3 separate regions of the Homo sapiens genome follow, and all the other regions are linked to region 2. The links are contacts of gene promoters, found by promoter capture Hi-C in blood cells and fetal thymus (Javierre and others, 2016). All regions are on one chromosome and are shown on one strand. The core of a region is centred on a gene start or on the middle of the fragment in contact, and the rest is flanking DNA. Distances in the headings are between cores, read along the strand shown.

Region 1 (3,189 bases), core at 224-2,723, 130 kb before region 2:
GGATAGGGGCAGATAGAGCAATACTTCCAGATCTTTTCCCCAATCCAGTATTTCTTGAGTGTCCTCTTGGTTCCAATGTTTCCCAGGGATTAAAACAAACCAGCAGAGGAGCCAGAGAAGCATTTCTATGTCCTCTGCCACCCTGAGCATGGGAGATGAGTGAGTGGGAAGGGGAGGGTGAGCACAGACCACGGGATAAATGAGGAACAGCTTACTGCTGCGGTCAAGCAAAACCCAGGGAAACCCCGGGACACGCTGAACCAGATGCACAACTGCTAGAGAGGGATTAGAAATCAGCTCACGTCCTCACTCCCACCTTCTTTTTATGCATGTTGAGAGGCAGAAATCCTGACCCCTGCTTAACAACAGCAGGGATTCCCTTCTCTCCAAGGGCATAGCCCTCAAGCCCTTGAACAAGAGGTGGGAGTTCCCTTGTTCCTGGGTCCCTCCAAGGCAGGTAGACATCACCATCCTTGCTCCAGGGGCAGCAGAGACCAGTGGGGGCAGGGACCTGAGAGTCTGGAACCACTGCCAAGGGTACAGAGTGAATTGGCATGCCCCAGACAGCTCCATCAAGGAATAGTGCCTGCCATTCCCCAATTACAAACAAAAGCTTACATATAAAATGCAAACACCAAGCCTGGGCACTGTGGCTCATGCCTGTAATCCCAACACTTTGGGCAGGCAGACCACTTATGCCCCAGAAATCAAGACCAGCCTGGGCAATATGGTGAAACCCCATCTCTAAAAAAATACAAAGAATAGCTGGGTGTGGTGGTATGCACCTGTAGTCCCAACTACTAGGGAGGCTGAGGTGGGAGGATCACTTGAACCCAGAGGCAGAGATTGCAGTAAGCTAAGATCATGCCACTGCATTCCAGGTTTGGTGACAGAGTGAGACTCTGTCTCAAGGGAAAAACAAATGCAAACGCTATGGTAAAGATTAGCACACGGATAGGAATAAACTTCACGTAGGACATACTGGGTTGGGGGGATGCATATACTCTGGAGGAGAATAGTAGAAGAAAAAAGAAAGGCACTACCATATGAGAGAAGGTGACTGGGCACATAGGTGTGAACCCATCTCACAATGTTCTGTACAAGCTCTGCTTCCAGCCTTGATGAGTCCTCATCCCCTAAGGGAAGCTGCAGATAAGTTTGTTTGTGCTACCTTGAAATGATTGGAAGCTAAGAAAGCAGTTCTCCCAACTAGTTAGCACTAATGAGGGCTAACAACAAGGGGGCTGTGGGTCTCAGGATAATAATGAGATAGAGGCTCAGAGGGCTCCTCCCTGATGTCTGCACGTGGAAAAATGGCCCAGGACCTCCTTTTTCCTGCGGGGACAAGGAGGGTGCCCAATCTGTTATCCAGATCACAGCCTGCAGGGCCTGGAGCCAGGGCTGCTTGAGATTCTGCTGCTCACATTGGCCCAGGCTGTCACACTTTGAAGAGGTGAAGCTCACTGTCCCTCTCATCAATCTGATGCCACGGCGTTTATTAAAAGGATTTACCGCATGCTAGGCTTTGTGCCAGGTACTGGTGACATGAAATGGAGTGAGATGAGCACCCCACCACTGGGAACTCACACTCAGGCACACAGTATTGCCACGGAGGTACAGACAATATACCATGAGGACTTGAGGGAGAAAGGGACAGAAGTGTCAGAAGAGGCAGCACAGAGCAGCTGCATTTCTAATATGCGGGCAAAGATGGGATACAAAGTATAACAGAAAAGATCCCATTCCCAACAGCAACAACAGCAGCTACAGCATATCTAGGAAGAAACTTCACAAGAAATGTGTAAGAAGAAAACCTTAAAACGTTTCATTTATTTTGTTTGTTTGGTTTTTATTAGAGACAGAGTCTCCTTCTGTCGCCCAGACTGGAGTGCAGTGGCCAGATCATAGCTCACCGCAGCCTCCAACTCCTGGGCTACAGCGATCCTCCCACATCTGCCTCCCAAGTAGCTGGGACTACAGGCATGCGCCACCACACCCAGCTAGTTTTTATTTTTTGTAGAGATGAGGGTTGGCGGGGGGTCTCACTATGTTACCCTGGCTGATCTCAAACTCCTGGCTTCAGGCAGTCTTCCCGCCTCAGCCTCCCAAAGCACTGGCATTATGGGGCATGAGCCACCACACCTGGCCTTAAAACTTTGATGAACACACAAAAAAGACTAGAATAAACGGAAAGGTCTACTTCCCTTTCTCTGGATAGGAAGATTCATTGTAAAGCTATCTATTCTCCCCAAAATAACCTGTACGTTTCATGTGATTCCAACTGAAAAATCCCAGTATTTTTCGCAGAACATGGTAAGTTGTTTATAAGCTTATTTGGAGAAAGAAATGCCAAAAAAAAAAAAAAAAGTAAGAAGTATGTTTTAAACCAAAGTATTATATAAAAATGGTGGTAATTAAAACAATGAAATACACAGAATCAGACAAATAAGTCAATGGAAGTAAAAAGAGGCCTTAAAACACCCATGACTGTAAGAGTACTTATGAAATGCTTAAGGTAGAATTCATACACTACAAGGGAAACTACAAATACCCAATAAATAGATTGGGGATAACAGGCTTTCTATTTAGGAAAAGTTCAATCCCTATCTTATATCGCATGCAAAAATAAATCTCACCTTAGAAATCTGAACATCTAAAATAAAACTTAAGTAAGAAAAGCCAAAATACTGATGAATTCTCGTTGTATAAAAATCAAATTTTTATGATAGACACAATGAAAGACAAACAGGCCAAAATTTTTTTCAAAACGTAACAGAAGTTAGTATCAAAACCCTCATAACGATGAAAGCTATACTATGTTTTCTCACTTAAGATGACAGAAGAAGGCCAGGCACGGTGGCTCACACCTGTAATCCCAGCACTCTGGGAGGCCAAGGCAGGCCGATCACTTGAGGGCGCGAGTTCGAAAACAGCCTGACAAACATGGAGAAGCCCCGTCTCTACTAAAAATACAAAATTAGTCGGGCACGGTGGCACATGCCTGTAATCCCAGCTACTCGGGAGGCTGAGGCAGGAGAATTGCTTGAATCCGGGAGGAGGAGGTTGCAGTGAGCCGAGATTGTGCTACTGCACTGCAGCCTGGGCGACAAGAGCAAAACTCCGTCTCAAAAAAAAAAAAAAAAAAAAAAAGAGACAGAAGAGGTTTCATCTTATCCCAGTTAAAAAGGC
Region 2 (3,423 bases), core at 807-3,306:
CCAACCTATCACCAGCCCTTCTTACTTCTACCTGCACGGCACCCATGCCACCAGCTCAGGACCACCGCATGCTGCAGTAGCGCTCTTGCCCTGTTCCAGTCCACTCTCCTCACAGCTGCCAAAGCAGCCCCTTCAACAGATACCCTCCAGATTAAAACCCTTCCATGGCTCCCCATAGCCTGATCCTTTAGAGTCTAAAGCCCTTGTAATCCAGCCCTGCGGACCCCTCTGAATTTAGTTTTACCTGATTCCTGCCTTGCTATCTAAATTCAGTGGAATTGAGCCACTTGAGTCCCAAAGACCATGCTTCCTCTTTACCAGGAAGGACCAAGCTTGGTCCTTACTTCAGGACCAAGCTCAGGCACCTCTTCCTCCAGGAAGTCTTCCCTGATAACTCCTGGGTTGAGTGATGGGCTCCTCCTGGCCTTTACCCCTTTCGTGTACTTATTTGCTCCATGGTTCTCATCTGTTTATCTGTCTCTTCCAGTAACTGCAGAAGCCTCTCCACTGTCCCTAAGGAGCAGAGACAGTGCCTGGCCCATAATAAGTGCTCAATAAATGTTGGCAGAATGAACAAGGGGAAAGAGGAAAGATATCTCGCCCCAAGGTCATGATGTCACACGGCCCATCCCCTTTTCTCAGGCCTGGCATGTAGGATCTTACTGTTCATTGCAGTTTCTCCAGCACCCATCCCTCTCTGTCACAGGAAGCTCTTCCTCTTTTCAGCCCAAGGGTTAGTATCAGAGTCCAAACCCACATTCAAGTAATCAAAGTGAGCACTTAGAGCCTCCCTGTACAAAGTGTGGTCCCAGACCAGCAGCTTCAGTGTCGCCTGGGAGCTTGTTAGGAATTCCAAGTATCAGGCCATATCTCGGCCTACTGGAATCAGAATCTGGGGTGGGGCATGGGGCAATCTGTGTTTTAACAAGCACTCCAGGTGATTCTTAAAGTTTGAGAACTCAGGGCCGGGCCCTGACAGCCTTGAGCTGAGTGCTGTATATACGCATTCTCTCGTTTAATCCTCACACCATCGCCAAGTAGATATTATTATTCTTGCCCCCATTTTACAGGTGAGGAAGCTGAGGTCGCTCAGTAACTTGGTTAGCCTGACAGTCTGCCTTCAAGGCCTGCACTGCCACACCCAGCCTGCCTCACCTGTGAAGAGATGCTAGTGAATTCTGATGCCAAACATAGAAGTGGCCCCTTCATCTCATCTTCCTCTTAATTCTTTGTGCATGTGTTGTGTGTGTGTTGGGTGGGTTGGGGGGAGTAATGACATCTGCAAATGGGTCACAGTTGGGTGTGAGTCTTTTGGATGAGTGGCTGTACGTCTCTAGGCCTCAATGTCCTCATCAGAGGAGAATGAACTAGATGGGTCCCAAGTTCCTTCTACCCTGAAACCTCACGATGCCACAGGGCAAGTGGAATTTTCTCCATCCCCCAATGATCCTAGAGCCTTCAAGGACTGCAGAAACCCTCCATTCTCCTCAGCCAAGCACAGATCAGAGGACAGAGAGACCCACAGGGGACCTGAAGAAAATACCCTCCCATTCCCAGCACAGACATTTCATGGACTAAACAGCTCACAGACACCAGGACCACTGTTGGCTTTGACTCAAGTATTCTGAAAAGCTGCTTTTCTGCAAAGTATATGATCCCCTAAAACAGCCTCCCAGACATTCTAACCCAAGACAAAGGACATCAGGGTGTGGATCTGCACTGGCCCTGGGGAGCAGGGCTAGTAGAGACTGCAGGCATTATATCCCGCCAGTCCCCATTCTGAGGCAGGGAGCACGGTTCCAAGCTGCCCCTGCCCCAGGATGTCCCATGGCCAGATACGCCTTTTCTCAGCAGGCTGCAGTATGCTTGCAGGTGCCGCTGCCCACCAAGGGCTCTGGTGTGTGATCTGGGCCAGCGTCACAGAAGCCAGGCCAATCTGGAGGCACCTCCCGCACCCAGGAGGCCAGGCAGCCCCGGAAAGGAAGAGGTGGCAAAAGCCGTACAGTACTTACCGAGGGTATGAGAGGTTCTTCTCCCAGTGACTGAGGGCTGGTGTGTCTTTGGCATGAATACCAGAGCAATATAAAACCCCAGAGGCGGATCTTCTTTAAACAAAGTCCCTAAAAAGGCCAGCTGACGGTGTGTTAGCAATATTACCATATAAGGTGGTTTTTTCAATAAATCGCCTTGGGGGTAGGGAAGGGGGGTGGGTAGAGTGAGTTATCATTTGAAAAATGTATGCAAAAGGACTCAGTGGCAACAGCCCCGGTGCTGGTAGATTTGTTCCTTTTATGCTGCACTTGCATAAACAAAACTCACACCAGGCCTTATAAGCTGCCCAGAGTGAGACCAGATGCAGCTGTGCTCCTGGAGTGAGAACCATACCAAGAATGGCAGCGGGCCTCCTCCGTCCACACCTCCCTCCTCAGGCCCTGCTGCATGCGGCCCCTGGGTCTGCCTGGGACGCCCAGGCACTGTCCCCAAAATGGGTGCAATCATGCCTTGTCTGGCACGAGCCTGGGACCAATGAAAGCTGAAGAGAAATGCCTTCCGTACCCAGGAAAGAAATCCTGCGTGCCCTACTCACCTGCTGCACCTTGACACAAGCTCCTAACCCTTGGGCTGAGTTCTCTGAGGGTCTCAGGACACCTTAGGCTTCATTCTCTCTTGGCTCCTTCCTGGTTTTCCTTTAAATATCTCTAAATATCTGCAGACTGAGGGACCTGCTTCAGGGTTGAGGCACACCTAACAAGACTCTTGGCCTGTAGGATTTTCCACAGTCCTGTGATTCTTGAGCTGCTTCTTTTTCTTTTTTGAGATAGAGTCTCGCCCTATCCCCCAGGCTGGAGTGCATTGGTGCAATCTCGGCTCACTGCAACCTCCGCCTCCCAGGTTCAAACAATTCTCCTGCCTTAGCCTCCTGAGTAGCTGAGATTACAGGCACCTGCCACCATGCCCAGCTAATTTTTGTATTTTTAGTAGAGACAGGGTTTCACCATGTTGGCCAGGCTGGTCTCGAGCTCCTGACCTCGTGATCCACCTGCCTTGGCCTACAGGTGTGAGCCACTACGCCTGGACTTCTTTTTGTTTGTTTGTTTTGTTTTTAATTAGACAGGGTCTCGATCTTGAACTCCTGGATTCAAGCAATCCCTCCACCTTGGTCTCCCAAAGTGCTGGGATTACAGGTGTGAGCCACCATGGCTGGCTGATGATTGCTCTTCTTTGTGTAATTCATGTACTATCCCTAGGTAGCTGGTTCATTTCCCACATTATCAGCTACCAGCTCTGCAGTATTACTTTCAACTCCACATTCTCATGGTCCCCCTCCCTCACCCTGATCCAGACTAAAATGATCAATTGCCTATTGGACATCCCAATCCAGATGACTCTCCAGCTCTTCAAACTCATCCTGTCTAAAACTGA
Region 3 (3,310 bases), core at 732-3,231, 98 kb before region 2:
GTTTCCCAGGTGATCCCAATGTGGAACCCCTGATCTACATGGCTGACAGACTGAACAGGGCAGTCATATCAGTGGCCTCCCTCTCTAAGATGACTTTAAGTCAAAAACTGGACTTCTCATCTGTCCAAGCTGGCAGGAGATGCCATCATTTATTTACAGAAATCTAGATCTGTTCATTTGCCTCAGCTGCTTTGAAAAGAACCACAAGCACCCTCAAAGTTTATCACCTGCCTTTCTAAAGTTTCACAAAACACCTTTTAAACAATCTGTTCTAGAACTCTCAAAAACTGACATTAAGATTATATATTTACAATTTTCAAAATCTCTTTGAGAAATTGGACTTTTAGCCCATCTCTGGTTTTTTGGCCCTCTTTCAATCATCATAATTCCATAAAAATTGTAATTCACCATGAGTTCACCAGGCTGGGCAAAATAGCGACACTCTGTCTCTATTTAAAAAAACAACAAGGGCCGGGCACAGTGGCTCACGCCTGTAATCCCAGCACTTTCGGAGGCCAAGGTGGGCAGATCACCTGAGGTCAGGAGTTCAACACCAGCCTGGCGAACATGGTGAACCCCCTTCTCTACTAAAAAAACAAAAATTAGCCAGGCGTGATGGCACATGCCTGTAATCCCAGCTACTCGGGAGGCTGAGGCAGGAGAATCGCTTGAACCGGGGAGGTGGAAGTTGCAGTGAGCTAAGATCACGCCATTGCAGTCCAGCCTGGGTAACAGAGCGAGACTCCATCTCAAACAAAACAAAACAAAAAAAAAAAAGAAAAGAAAAAAAGATTGTGATTTTGCAATCACATCTGCAGGTGTTCAGTAGGAAGTGAATGACTCAGACTCAGGTAGGGTAGCTGGCTGGCTCTGTTTTCCCCAGGTTATATCTTCTGACACCACAGGGACCCAGTGTCTGTCCACTCTCTCCATCCCTAGAAAGTTGTAAGCCTACCTCTTCCCTCTCACTCTTGCTAGAACCATATACAAGACATTGTTATCAGCATTTTCCACCAGCCTTAGCACATTCTGGCCACTGGACTCCCTGATGCTCCTCTTAGGGGCTCAGACCACACTCCTGACTCTGCTTCAGTGCCATGTCCCCACTTTCCACATAATGTGCTTGGCCTTTTACCCCCTCACTCACTAGAGAACAGCCCATACAGCCACACAGATGGCTCAGTCCTTCCCCAGTCCCACCAACACCTTTCTCCTGAAGCTATCATTCATGACTGTTCTATCAGCGTTTCCTTCTTTTTTTTTTTTTTTTTTTTTTTGAGACAGAGTTTCACTCTTGTTGCCCAGGTTGGAGTGCAATGGCGCAATTTCAGCTCACTGCAACCTCTGCCTCCTGGGTTCAAGGGATTCTCCTGCCTCAGCCTAGGTACACCTGGGAGCCCCAGACCAGTTTGGTCCACCCTGGATCAATTAAATCAGAATCCCTTGGGAGTGGGGCCCAGGCACCATGTTTTGCTACATTTCCCAGGTGATCCCAATGTGGAACCCCTGATCTACATGGTTGACAGACTGAACAGGGCAGTCGTATCAGTGGCCTCCCTCTAAGATGACTTTAAGTCAAAAACTGGACTTCTCATCTGTCCAATCCTCAGGAGCTGGGATTACAGGCACCCACCACCACGCCTGGCTAATTTTGTATTTTTAGTAGAGATGGGGTTTCTCCATGTTGGTCAGGCTGGTCTCGAATTCCTGACCTCAGGTGATCTGCCTGCCTTGGTCTCCCAAAGTGCTGGGATTACAAGCGTGAGCCACCGTGCCCGGCCAGAGTTTGCTTTTTAACAAGCAATTCTATCCCTCCAGCTAATTTTCATTTAGAATCTGTGGCCGTGGAGTTAAAAACCGCTTGCATTTGAAAGACGATATTCTAAAGACTATCCATAAAAATTGTAATTCACCAGTTCAAGACCAGCCTGGGCAAAATAGCGAGACCCTGTCTCTATTTAAAAAAACACCAAGGGCCGGGCACGGTGACTCACGCCTGTAATCCCAGCACTTTGGGAGGCCAAGGTGGGTGGATCACCTGAGGTCAGGAGTTCAACACCAGCCTGGCCAACATGGTGAAACCCCATCTCTACTAAAAATACAAACACTCCTCCCTGTCCAACCTTCTTTCAGGCTTGACAAATGCTCAGATGCGGTCCCTTTCTCTAAAGATTCTCATCACTTCCACTTCTCTAGTCAATTCTCCCTTTGATGCTGAGACCAGCCTGAACACATTCCTCTCCACAGCCTCCATCTTCAGGAAGATAGAACTACCAGCAGGATGGGCAAGGATTCATCAGGTGTTCTGATATTGTTGAAAGATTCCCAATTCCAAGGTATCTTGACTCAAATCTGGCAGAGATCTGTTTCAAGATGTAAATCCAGTTGGCTGAGGGCTAGAAAGTATTCTCATCACATATATCTTTCCATTTCTCTCATTTTCACCCATAATATTCTCAGTCATGCTTCCAAACTTATGCATACATTTTTCTATGCATTTTTTTAAGGGTCATTCTCCTACTCTAATAGTTATTTACTTCCCTCATCCATGGTCAACTTTTCAGTCAGGCCTAGGACCATAGTGACTCCTTGGTGTCTAGCCTCCTCCCCCAGCACAGAGGCTGGCAAACTCCTCCCTCCCTCTGCCTGGCTCTACTGTTCTGCCCCACGGTTCTTCTATGAGCAAGTGAGGTGAATGCCTTGAGATAAACGCTTAATTTGTATTGCATCTGGAGTTGTATGCAGGCTGGAGTGCAGTGGCTCAAATATTGCCCACTGTGGGCTCAGGCGATTCTCCCACCTCAGTCTTTCCAGGAGCTAGGACTACAGGCACATGCCACCATGCCTGGCTAATTTTTTTTTTTTTTTAGCAATGGGGTCTTGCTATGTTGCCCAGCCTGGTCTCAAGTGATCATCCTGCCTCAGCCTCCCAAAGCTCTGGGATTACAGGAGTAAGCCACCATACCTAGCCCTTGTATTGCATCTTTACAGCTCGAAGACTAATGCACAGTTGTTTATGCATAAAGATTCATCATTTTCTAGATGTTTAGGAATGTTTTGTCATCATGCATTGATTACCTACTATGTGCCAGACATTATGCATATTTTATCTCATTTAATCCTCATGACAACCCTACAAAGCAGGGTTACTCCCATCTTACAATTGAGAAAATGGACACAGAAGGGATGGAGCACTGGTTGCCCAAGAGAGTAAGGGCACAGCACTTACTCTGGGTTCTCAGCCCTATCCACTGTGCTTCCTTACTCACCAAACCCTACTTTTCTACTCAGTCATCTTCATTGTACTACC

The links. Contacts are between HindIII fragments. The CHiCAGO score rates a contact against its expected background, and 5 or more counts as called.
Region 1: a contact is called between a fragment that was not itself captured here and the fragment with the promoter of ACTG2 in region 2, in 2 of 17 cell types (activated CD4 T cells and monocytes). The highest score is 7.0, in activated CD4 T cells.
Region 3: a contact is called between a fragment that was not itself captured here and the fragment with the promoter of ACTG2 in region 2, in 2 of 17 cell types (activated CD4 T cells and naive CD8 T cells). The highest score is 5.4, in activated CD4 T cells.

The regions. Positions count from the first base shown.
Region 1 is chr2:74,017,923-74,021,111 of GRCh38, reverse strand. The region is part of intron 3 of TET3 (tet methylcytosine dioxygenase 3); the gene reads right to left. Among named protein-coding and RNA genes, the nearest start is that of TET3, 35 kb to the right of the region's middle. RefSeq lists a silencer at 1-51. The HindIII fragment of the contact is 1,716 bases long and covers 616-2,331 here.
Region 2 is chr2:73,891,641-73,895,063 of GRCh38, reverse strand. It overlaps ACTG2 (actin gamma 2, smooth muscle), which reads right to left and starts at 2,056. Exons shown (of 9, transcript NM_001615.4): 1 at 2,013-2,056. RefSeq lists an enhancer at 2,167-2,980. The HindIII fragment of the contact is 3,877 bases long and covers 335-3,423 here.
Region 3 is chr2:73,989,773-73,993,082 of GRCh38, reverse strand. The region is part of intron 2 of TET3 (tet methylcytosine dioxygenase 3); the gene reads right to left. Among named protein-coding and RNA genes, the nearest start is that of TET3, 6.5 kb to the right of the region's middle. The HindIII fragment of the contact is 5,630 bases long and covers 1-3,310 here.